Linked DNA regions of Homo sapiens: region 2 is linked to region 1. Evidence: promoter capture Hi-C in 16 types of primary human blood cells and fetal thymus (Javierre and others, 2016). All regions are on one chromosome and are shown on one strand. The core of a region is centred on a gene start or on the middle of the fragment in contact, and the rest is flanking DNA. Distances in the headings are between cores, read along the strand shown.

Evidence for each region. The method cuts DNA at HindIII sites, captures the fragments that hold promoters and counts their contacts. A CHiCAGO score of 5 or more calls a contact.
Region 2: a contact is called between a fragment that was not itself captured here and the fragment with the promoter of SC5D in region 1, in 9 of 17 cell types (non-activated CD4 T cells, neutrophils, total CD8 T cells and 6 more). The highest score is 11.4, in non-activated CD4 T cells.

What each region holds. Positions count from the first base shown.
Region 1 is chr11:121,290,316-121,295,943 of GRCh38, forward strand. SC5D (sterol-C5-desaturase) reads left to right here and starts at 2,456. Exons shown (of 5, transcript NM_006918.5): 1 at 2,456-2,501. RefSeq lists enhancers at 2,198-2,247, 4,961-5,502, 5,503-5,628 and a silencer at 2,418-2,467. The HindIII fragment of the contact is 7,130 bases long and covers 1,322-5,628 here.
Region 2 is chr11:121,563,045-121,569,441 of GRCh38, forward strand. SORL1 (sortilin related receptor 1) reads left to right here. Exons shown (of 48, transcript NM_003105.6): 22 at 3,896-4,069. Among named protein-coding and RNA genes, the nearest start is that of SORL1-AS1, 110 kb to the left of the region's middle. The HindIII fragment of the contact is 4,851 bases long and covers 1-3,757 here.

The DNA of each region.
Region 1 (5,628 bases), core at 1,206-3,705:
CAAATGTAGCCCTCTCAGAGAAACTGACTGACCATGCTGTCTGAAGTTAACAGCTTCCGTTAATTTTGATTCTCTTACCCCATTTTCTTTTTCTTCATAGCACTGTCCGACATTGTATTATATATCTATTTATTTATTATCAGTTTTCTGTCTCCTTACTAGTGTGTAAGCTTCATTAGAGCAGACTTTGTTTTGATTATCAGTATATCTCCTGTGCATATGACAGTGCCTGACACTTATCACCATTACATAATGATTTATTGAGTAAATAAATTGAGTAATTTAATGATTAAATGGTTTGTTTCCATGTTCATGTTCCATCCAGACACATAGGCAGGTATTGTGGCTTATCTCTGAATTCCTTGGTACTGGCTGGTTGGTACCATAGACCCTTGCAAACAATGAATAAATAAATTACCCTGATCCATCAGTGTGCCTGGATAGAAAAGACATGTAGGAATGCTGCACCCCAGGATGTGCTATTAATACACTTATACACCACGGAATACTATGCAGCCATAAAAAAAAGAATGAGTTCATGTCTTTTGCAGGGACATGGATGAAGCCGGAAGCCATCATTCTCAGCAAAATAACACAGAACAAAAAACCAAACACCACATATTCTCATTGAGTATGTGGGAGTTGTTCAACTGTGGGAGTTGAACAATGAGAACACATGGACACAGGGAGGGAAACATCACACACCGGGGCCTGTCAGGGGGTGGAGGGCAAGGGGAGGGAGAACATTAGGACAAATAACTAATGCATGCAGGGCTTAAAACCTAGATGACGGGTTGGAAGGTGCAGCAAGCCACCATGGCACATGTATACCTATGTAACAAACCTGCACGTTCTGCACATGTATCCCAGAACTTAAATAATAATTAAAAAATACACTTAAATTTATTTTTAAACAAGATTGTTCTCTTGAGGTTAACTTATTACTACTTTGAGTTGTCAGGAGTGATTGCAAATTTCTTGGGAATCCCTAAGTCACCAAGAATAAAGACCACTTGTAATAGCTAAGGCATATTCAACAATAAAATTCTAGAGATTCAGGATATTTGATGTTTGCTTATAACATTTCACTTTTGAGCTTTTATTCGTTTAATAAATGTTTTATCATCTATGCTCAATAACATTTTAAAGTGTCCATTCAAATCATTTCATTGGGCAAAACAATGTTCCTTCCCTAATTTCCCTCATCAGAATAGCCATTTTGTCTCTGTGCTCAGCCTATACCACCAATTACTGTTTATTTCCTGTCCTTGTAATAAGCAACATAGTTATTTATACATGCCCATTTCTCCCACAGCACATAAGCTTTTTAAGGTTGGGAACCATGTCTTTGTCATTATTGTAACATCTCTTTCCATTCCCGGTGTTCAGTACGATGTGTTAAACGAAGTAGACACTCAAAACTTTTTAAAATTTATTTTTATTTATATAATGAGTCTTTTTTAAAAAAACCACCTACACTATTTTAAATTCATTTGAACTTTGTCCAGTATCCTATGTACATTTGAAGTTTAACTACCGGAAAAGTCTTTTGAAGGCAGATCGAATCATGTTATTTTTTTCCCTTAAAAATCCCTCATTTCTGTCATGTATTCCCCATATTATTTATGTAATAGGTAAAGTGGCCCAGTTTGCCACTTTGAAGTTGCTGAGCTGGTATCACAAGTCAGTCCCCTCTGTTTTAATCTCTGTTTAAGGAAAGTCACTCTGAAACGACAGATCTTTTGGTTCCTTATTTCTGCTTTCCTCCGTCCTCTTCTGCCTGTGAAGCCACCCTCCTCTGCTCAGCTCTGTTTCAGGAAATCGGAGCTGCTCGATTCATGTGTAGCAAATCAAAGCCAATTAGATCTGCGTTAACCTTGGTTTTCAACAACTTGTATCGTGAAAAGGTTTCTGTCCATGTTTACCCTCATCTTGTCACCATTTAGACCCCTACATACACCGGCTCGCGGAGCCTCCAGCCATTCAGCGCTAGAAAATCGGGGGGACTACGTCTTAAAACCTTGAGCACCTGTTTGGGAACATCTGCACCTCCTCCCTTGAGGGAGAAAACGACCCAGACATTCGCGTCAAAGGAAGTGTCGTCTATTTCCCTCAACGCAGGGCACCCGTTCTAGGAATGTTTGTATAAACACCGTAAACCTGCCTGGTACCACCATGAATGACACAAGAGCTAGTTTAAAAAGAAAGCAAAGAAACAAACGCAAAACCCGAAACCGCATCCTCCACCGCAAAGGTACTCGGATGGGGCGCCCGCCCTCCCCTTAGTCAGAGGACAAAGGGGGCGTGGCCGAGCGCGCGGCGCCCACGTGACCGCGGAGAGCTGCGCGCAGGCCCTTCGCGCGATCTGCCGTCATATCAGCTTATGGCGCCGGTCGCTGATTGGCTGGCCGCTCCAGCCTCCCGGCCCGCTTGCTGGCTGCCCAGCTGCTAGGACAGTTTGCAGAGCAGTGGCGTGCGGAGCGGCGGCGGACCACCTCCAGGTGGGGACGGTGGGTGGGCGGGGAAGGAAGCGGAATACACCTGAGCGGGCTGGGCCGGGGGGCGATGGAATAAAAGAAGATGGAGAGACTTCAGCGCCTGGGACTCGGGTGGGCGAGGCGGAAGGTGTCCTCGCAGCACGGCTTTTCTCCGCGCCGCGGTTGGTTAGCGAGTGCCCTCTGGGTGCTAGGCGTTGGGCGGATGGTAGGATCGCGGTAGCATACGGATCCGAGTCCTGCGCCGAGTGAGAGGAGAGGCTGGCAGGTAGCCTGGCATCCCGAAGACTGGCGGCGAGGGCTGGGCCGGGGGACCTCGGGGCCTGGAGGGCTGCGCCACCTGGGAGTCCGGGCGGAGGGGCCTTCCGCTCGCGCTGGGAGGGATCGCGGGGCCGATAGGGAGGCCTGGACTTGAAGGAGCCGACCGTGGACGGGCTTAAAGAAAATGCAGTGTTTGATGTTGGGTGTTGCAGATCTCTTACTCAAGGGAATTCTGGTCTGGCTGCTGAACACGAATGCTTTACTTTTCCCTTCGTTCTGGGAGGGTTTTTTTCTTTTAAAGGCCAGAAGAATCAGGCTGAAGAACTGGTCGGTATCAGAACTCCTGACCATTGCAAGCCTCTGTTGCTGCGGCGTAATTAGAATGAAGGGACAGCAATCTGGGGCTGAGGAGACTGAAAGGAAAAGGGAAATAATCTGTTCCTTTTGCATCATAAAAGGAAAAATAATGTATACTGACATCCCTGTGTTACAGCAGAGTAGATTTGGAGGTGGTGTAAGTGAAGAAAACAAGACCTCAGTACATAGAGTTTCCAAACTGGAAAGTTTGTGGCAGCTCGGTACTTTTAGAGGAAACCCTCTGGAAGTTATTTGTCTTTATATCACTATCATTTTTTAAAGTTTCTAATGATTGATACCTAGTAAATAATAACTGATCCTTGATCATTTACAGAGTGCTTTTCCATTCGTTATGTAATGTAATTAATTAGCATGGGGTGGTACTCAGAATCCCTCATCTGCATATAAAACATCTTGAGAGATAACATAACGTGGTAGCAAAGAGAAAGGTTGTGGAATGTACATCCCAGCTGGTTTTTTCTGTTATTGTTGCTTGCTACTGAACAAGTTATTTAAATACTCTGACCTCAGTTTCCCTATCTATAAAGTGGGGAGCATAGAAGTACCTATCTCATAGAGGTATAGGGATTAGATGAGGTTATACAAAAATAATACCTGGTTCTCAATAAATATTAGCTATCATTTTCTATACTTTTAAAGTAGGGCAAAAAGATAATGGTAGACTGAGTTGTTCTAAGCCTAATATTGTTATTATAACTGAGTTTTAAGAAGAAGTTTCTTTAATTCTGCAAGGACAAAGTATTTAAGTTTCTGTTTGAAGCAGTGGTACTTAATTTAGGGTCCTTGGGACCCCTAACTTCAGGGCTTATAACCCCTTAAAATTATATGAGCTTGTAGAGGCACTGAACATTTTTAAAAATTCAGGAGTTGACGACTTGAAGTAGTGGTGAAGAGGCTATAGAACTTGGCAGAAGTTCACGTACTTTGCAACTAGATTGTGTGTATTTGAATCCTAGCTCCAGCATTTATTTACTCTTATGACCCTATGCAAGTTACTTAAAATTTCTGTGCCCAGCTTCTTCATCTATAAAATAATACTAGTACCTACCTTTGAGGCTTCTTGAAAGGGAAAATTAGTTAATATATTTAAAATATTTATATTACCTAGTATATATTAAATATTACTATCAACTACTGTCAGTTATTTTTCAAACAAAAATCAAGTGGCACCTATTTTATCTTCTATTGAAGTAATTTTGACGCATTTTTGACGGCCTTAACAGTGATAATCATATAGATGCTATTTTATTGAGTACCTTTCTTGGGTCAAATGTCAAAAGTCTACTTAGTCTCTAAACCTCACAGCAATCAAACATGTTTGTGTTCTTTTTGGTTGCACGATACTATTCTAGGTATTGTATTGAAGTAGGGCCACATGGCACTGTGGGGAACATGTAGATTGGCTCATCAGCTGTTACCAACCTTTAGTGATATAGCAATATCCTTTTCAATTATTAAATGTTTATGTTATCTGATATTACGTAGTACCCTGTCCCTGCTACACCACCTCCCTTGGCAGTCTTCACCCCTATAACTTCAACTACTACCTGTATACTAACCAGGCTCGCTTTTGAACTTCACATTTATATTTACATGTGGCCTATTGCTTATATCTAAGATAGAAGATGAGCCACAGATAATTAGGTTTTAAGATCTACATTGAACCCGTTTTGAACCCCAGATATCTGAGACAGGTCTCAGTCAATTTAGGAAGTTTATTTTGCCAAGGTTAAGGATTCACCCGTGACACAGCCTCAGGAAGCCCTGACAATATGTGCCCAAGGTGGTCGGGGACACAGTTTGCTTTTATACATTTTAGGGAGACATGAGACATCAATCAATATGTGTAAGAAGTACATTGGTTGGGTCTGGTAAGGCGGGACAACTCACAGTGGGGGCTTCCAGGTTAGAAGCAGATAAGAGACAAAGGTTGCATTATTTTGAGTCCTTGATTAGCCTTCCACTGAATGCACACATTTCGTCTGGCTCAGTGAATCTGCATGTTTACATAAACAATAGGGCAGAGGAAGCAATCAGAAATCCATTTGTGTCAGGTGAGCCTCAGAGGGATGACTTTGAGTCCTGTCTGTCCTTTATCCACAAAGGAATTTTCTGAGGGCAAATTGTGAGGGAGGGATGTAGCTTCTCATCCTTGTAGCTGTCTTATTTAGGAATAAAGCGGGAGGCAGGTTTGCCTAACATAGTTCCCAGCCTGACTTTTCTCTTAGCTTAGTGATTTTGGAGTCCCAAGATTTATTTTCTGTTCACACCATCATTCCTTACCCACCCCCTATTCCTACCCTACCCAAATCTGCTAGCTCTGCCAGTATTCCCTATTTCAATTACAATGACATCACCATCTACTTAGACCAGCTAAAGTCTCACAGTCATCCTAGATTTCTCTCTCTTTCACTTCCCAGCAAACGTGGGTTATCCAAATCCTGTGGGTGTTTTTACTTGCGCGAAATCTCTGCTGGCTAGTCTTAACAGCCAC
Region 2 (6,397 bases), core at 82-2,581, 270 kb after region 1:
AACCTCACTTCGTCTTCCCAAAGACTTCTATATGTACTATCAATATTTCCATTTTATAGGTGAGAATATGAAAGTCTGGTTTAGTAACTTGTGTAGGTCACACTTTTAGTAAGTGGTAAGAATTTGCACTGTGGCCCGTTGACTTCAAAGCCTGAACTTCGATAAAACCACCCGGCTCTGCTCCCTCTGTCATGTGTTGCTAGAATAGCAGTGCCCTGGTAGTATGACAGCAGTTCAGAAGTACTGTTCTAGATTTTGATTGATGATGGTTCATAATAAAAATGTTGTTCAGTTGCAACATTTATCAATTTGAAATATTTGGTCCTTTATAGCTAGCTGGTTTTTATTTTTTATTTGTTTAGTTTTTTGGAGACAGAGTCTCGTTCTGTTACCCCGGCTGGAGTGCAGTGATGTGATCTTGGCTCACTGCAACCTCTGCCTCCTGGGTTCAAGCAATTCTCATGCCTCAGCCTCCTAAGTAGCTGGGACTAAAGGCATGTGCCACCATGCCTGGCTAATTTTTTGTATTTTAGTAGAGATTGGGTTTCACCATGTTGCCCAGGCTGGTCTTGAACTCCTGAGCTCAGGCAATCTGCACGCCCCGGCCTCCCAAAGTGCTAGGATTTACAGGTGTGAGCCACTGTGTCTGGCCACTAGCTGGTTTTTAAATGGTATAACTGGAATTTATTCTTTGTAAAGTGTGTTTTTTCTTTAAAGAGGTTACTTTACAAGATTGTTGATGTATTCAGTTGCTCCTGCGATGGCTCTTGGAGCTTTGGAATTCTTTTGCAGTTTTGGAATTCTCCTTTAGAGCCTGCAGTAAGTATGTGCTTTTAAGTATCTATAATGAGGGCACATATTTATTATTTGAGGTAGATTTGATTTTGATAATTGCCAAGTGTATAGATACTTGAGATGATGACATTTTTGGCTCCTAAAGTATTCCTGGAGGAATTTTCCAAACAGGAAATGTGAAAATGTTCTGAACATGCCCAGTGAAGACATCACGGGGCTATGTGTTTGATCTTCTAAGGGAATGTCTTTGAAGATGATTGTCCACTCTTCACATTGAGATAACGGTTTTCATATTGCCTGGTCCACTCAAGACAATTGTCATCCTGTATAAAGGGTCTGTGGCTGTGGTAGAACTGCCATCATAGGAGTTGGTGAATTACCCTTCCATCTTCTTCCAGCTTCTCTCTGATGCAGCTCTCCCATTTTCCATTCTCTGGCTTCAGACTAGCCTAGACATTCCTGCCCCTGCCTACCTCTTAGGATCAGTGACTTGGTTAGCTTGTTTTGCAGTTTGCCCCTGGTTACTGCCTCAGAGTACAGTTTCATACATTTCTGCCTAGATCAGCCTCCTGAAATATGATACCCCATTTTGAGTTCTCTACTCTTAGCTCTTCTTGCTTGTTTGGATAGGAATATTTGCTCTGCATATGAAAAGGTTAGTGAAATGATTTTACAGACATGATCCCTGTGAAAAAAATCATCCTGTAATAGAGTAGTTTTTTTTATTTGTTCGTTTTGTTTGTTTGTTTGTTTTTGAGACAGGCTCTGGCTCTGTTACCCAGGCTGGAGTGCAGTGGCGCCATCTCAGCTAACTGCAGCCTCTGTCTCCTGGGCTTAAGCAATCTTCCCACTTCAGCCTCTGAAGTGGCTGGGATCACAGATGTGTACCCGGCTAATTTTGCTTATTTTTTTTTTGTGGAGGCGGTCTTCACTATGTTGCTCAGGGTGGTCTCGAACTCCTGGGCTCGAGTGATCCTCCCACCTCGGCCTCCCAAACTGCTGGGATTACAGATGTGAGCCACTGCACCCAGCCGGTAATAGAGTATTTTAAAATAACATCATATTCCATTATTGTTCAGGATCTTGGAACATTGAGTGATATATTGTTCTTTGAATACAAAACACATGTTCCCACATCCTTGTTTGAGTTGTTTCTCATGAGTGGTGGCTCTATGTCAATTCTGCATTCCCTCTTGTAGCCAGTGGCCTGTACCTTTGAACTAAAGGAGCCATCTGTGCCCACTAATGGATCAGAGTGAAGGGATGTCTGGGACTTCTGCTCTAGTCAGCTGGTTAGTCTGCTATGGTAATTAAGCTGTTATGATTGATTATTTACTGAACCTTTTGGACTGTTTCATCATGTGGACTTCCCTTCCTCTGGAGGTGTATGTTTTCTCTCTATTTACTGAATCTTTTGGAATGTTTCATCATATGAACCTCCCTTCCTCTGGATGTGTGTGTTTTCTCTTTGGTAATACCTCTTACTCTTTTCCTTGGCATCATAATAACGTTGTTGCCATAGCATTGTGATTTTTATTTTTATTTGTAATGTAAATTAACCAATGATGTGCCCACACACCCAAAGCTACTGCGTATATTATCCATATCGACACTGATTATCATTCATGAACTTCGTCTAACCTGTAGGCCAGGATAGGCATGGCTTAGATGAATGCTTGGCTGGGTGGCAACAGATGATTTGGATATGGTGCTGAAGTGTGGGAGGGCATCTCTGTCCATGACATAGCACGAATGAAGAATTAGCAATTGAGTTTTATCTAAGTTTTTATGTTCATTTTTCCCATTTTCATGATTAATAATTGCAGTCAAAAGAAAAAACATGATTTCATAGTTTCTGTGACCCCATAGTTGTATCATGTTTCAGATTGTTATAAAATGGTTTATGCATCTTCTTACCTGCCATCCCCGGAACGATGTAGGGGATAGGATGGCACTTTTGCCATCCTCGTTCATCCACAAAGGCTCCTTCTCAAGAGTGCAGTGGTGGATTTTACGAACTCTCTCCGGTGCTGCCTTTAGTAAGCTGAACCAGAGAAAAGATTGGCAGGAGTGGGCTAGATCAGCATGAACTAGTCCTTACCTGAACACATTGCACAGCAGTGGCTGATGAGTACTGTGGTTGGCTCCTCCTTTAGCTCTTGAGGGGCACTCTGGCACAAAGGAATTGAGAAGGGGAGGCCTGGATTTTTGTCCTGGGCCCACCATTAACCAGGTGTATGTTCTAATTAAGGCCTTTGGGGCCCTAAGGAGCAGAAACCCACTCAAGCTAGCTCAAGTGAATGGTTTTATGGAATGAATAAAGGAGCCCAAAGATGAAAGTCTAGGAGAGCCTCATGGGGACTGGAGCTGTTCTTTCTCTTTCCCTCTCATTAGGCCTCTTCTCTCTGTAAGCCTCTTTCTTTTTAAAAAAAAAATTATTCGGAATTTTGAAGGCAATGTTCAACTATATTATAGCCACTAGTGTTGTAATTGAGAAGTCCAAAGACATTCTGGTTCTTTTTTAAATTAAAAAAAAAAATTTTTTTTAAGGGATAGGATCTTGCTATATTGCCCAGGCTGGATTCGAGCTACCAGGCTCAAGTGATCCTCCTGCCTCAGCCTCCTGAGTAGCTGGGGCTACAGGTGCGTGCTGCCATGCCTGGCCTCCTTAAGTCTCTTTTAGTCTCCTGACGGTCTGCAGACTGAGCTTATCTGCATACCCAGAGTTTTGACTTCCACACGGTTTTGGCTTGCCATGTGCCACTTCAACACCCATGCTCTGTGACCCTTTCCCTGGCTCCAGCTCCTTGGTTGCTTTCTTGTCTTTCAGTGACCCAATTACAAATTCCCAGGAGGAACCCTGCTGCCTGGCTTGGCTCTGGGGCAGTCTGATCTGGCTGAAGACAGGATGCAAGTCACTGGTTATACTGAGCAGAAGTTTTCAGCACAGTAGGCGCCCCAAAGCTTGCCACTTGACCCTTGAGAGCTTCTCGCTGTCCTTTCCGTAAGACGAGGAGGTTGCAGTGGGTCTCCTTCTTGTATTCAGTACCTCCCTCATGGTGTGTATTAACCTACCTGCTGCTGTTTGTCTTCCCTCCAGGAAGCAATGCCTGTGTGCCCAGGCCATGCAGCCTGCTGTGCCTGCCCAAGGCCAACAACAGTAGAAGCTGCAGGTGTCCAGAGGATGTGTCCAGCAGTGTGCTTCCATCAGGGGACCTGATGTGTGACTGCCCTCAGGGCTATCAGCTCAAGAACAATACCTGTGTCAAACAAGGTACTTCCCTTTTTCTTTTTTGCCTGTCATCCTCCTTCCTTTGTTTCCTGCTCCCCGCCAGGGGAGGGAGGGATAGCTCTCTGTTTCCTAACCTTTTCGTGTTATTGGAAAAAGTCCAAGGTAAAAATCAAACCTACCAGATACTCATAAGAATACTGGTTTGGGTTCTAAGTCCTGGTAAGGGTCAAAGAGGCCCTTCAGTCCTCACTCAGAACAGGCCTATGCTGTACCTTTCTAAGTAGTAGCTGTGGTTTTTGGTTTCATGTCAGATGGCACAGGCTTTCTTCAGGGTCTCCCTTTTTATTCTTTTGCTTCTTCCTCTCCTCACCCATCCCTCACATCCAGGTTTCTTACCTGCTCCTGTTTTGCATAAGTTGGACCAACCTGATTGGGAAAAATAACCAGTGTGACTCCTTCCGCGTTTACTCTCACCTAACGGTTGTCCATCCTCTCACCGTAGCCTAGCCCAGTGTGTCCTGAACTTTCAGACCAATGTTTGCAAAGCACTTTGAGTCTAGACCTTATGCCATGACCAAGCAGCAAGAGCAGCCTTACACCCACTCCCCCTCTGAATTTGAATATAGAGATTTAACATTTCTTTCCTCCGAAATTTAAAAAGTTTTTCCTTCCTGTGTAATTTTTACTGTCACCACTTCCCCCGCCTCCAGCATCACGTTTCTGTGAGTGAGGTGAACCCCTGCAAGGGCACCTTGCCATGAAGTGCATGGATTGATGGCCAGAATTTCTGCTTTTCCTTATCTGTGATTCTATTTGCCTTTTTTTTTATATATATTTTAAAGAGACAAGAAAGAGACAGGGTCTTGCTGTATTGCCCAGGCTGGCACATTCACGGCTCACTGCAGCTTCAACTCAAACTCCTGGGCTCAAGGGATCCTCCTGTCTCAGCTTCCCATGAAGCTAGGACTACAGGCACGAGCCCAGCTAATTTCTTTTATAGGGACGAGGTCTCACTTTGTTGCCCAGTCTGGTCTTGAACATCTGGGCTCAAGGGATCCTCCCTCCTCTGCCTCCCAAGGAGCTGGGATCACAGGCATGAGCCACTGTGCCTACTCTATTTGCTTTGTAATCCTAACCCTGCTTCTCACAGCGGCCCAAGTCCAAGGCAGTGAAACACACAATACAAGCCTTTTAGTCAATCTTCCTTAAGAAATATAAACAGAAAAAAGATGAGCCTTTCTTTCTTAGAAACAAGAGACTTTCTTTCAGGCTATGGATACAATCTTAAAACTGTTTGGAAAGAAATAGAATCAACACTAAATTCCAAGAGAAGGGGAAGAAAGCTACTCCATATTTCCCATTAGAATGCCTTTGATTATCCAAATATGAGACCAATCATCGCATGTCCTTGATGCAGTTTGCCAAACTATACATTTTTTTTCTGTAAGGAATTTTAATTGCTTGCTTTAAAGTAGTCATGGGGCAGAAAAATTTCTCAGAGTATTGAGAAAATCTTCATAACTCATTTGCTTGATAGATAGAATATATATGGATATATATAACTATGTATATAAAAACATACCTATAGATATATTGAATCTGTATGTTTTAATTCTGTGTAGACACAGTCCATTAAGGAGTTCTGTGTGTAATTAGTATTTTATAATGTTGATGTACTGTATTCACTACCCAATAGACTCAACTGGTATTGTGGTTATCCTTCTTAAAGCATTGTATCTGCTTCTAAATATTTCTTCCAGCCTCCTCCTCTCTTTTGATTTTAACTAAAAGAGGAAAGCAAGAGGCTAGTATGGGACATTTCCTTCCCTGTAGACACGTGTGCTTGGCATTCCTCCTCCCCCTTTACCATCATGTTACTTGTTGTGGGAAGTCCGGGACCCCGAACGGAGGGACCAGCTGAAGCCATGGCAGAAGAACGTGGATTGTGAAGATTTTATGGACATTTATTAGTTCCCCAAATTAATACTTTTATAATTTCTTATGCCTGTCTTTACTGCAGTCTCTGAACATAAATTGTGAAGATTTCACGGACACTTATCACTTCCCCAATCAATACCCTTGTGATTTCCTATGCCTGTCTTTACTTTAATCTCTTAATCCCGTCATCTTCGTAAGCTGAGGAGGATGTATGTCGCCTCAGGACCCTGTGATGATTGCATTAACTGCACAAATTGTAGAGCATGTGTGTTTGAACAATATGAAATCTGGGCACCTTGAAAAAAGAACAGGATAACAGCAATGTTCAGGGAACAAGACAGATAACCTTAAACTCTGACTGCCGGTGAGCCGGGCGGAACAGAGCCACATTTCTCTTCTTTCAAAAGGAAATGGGAGAAATATCGCTGAATT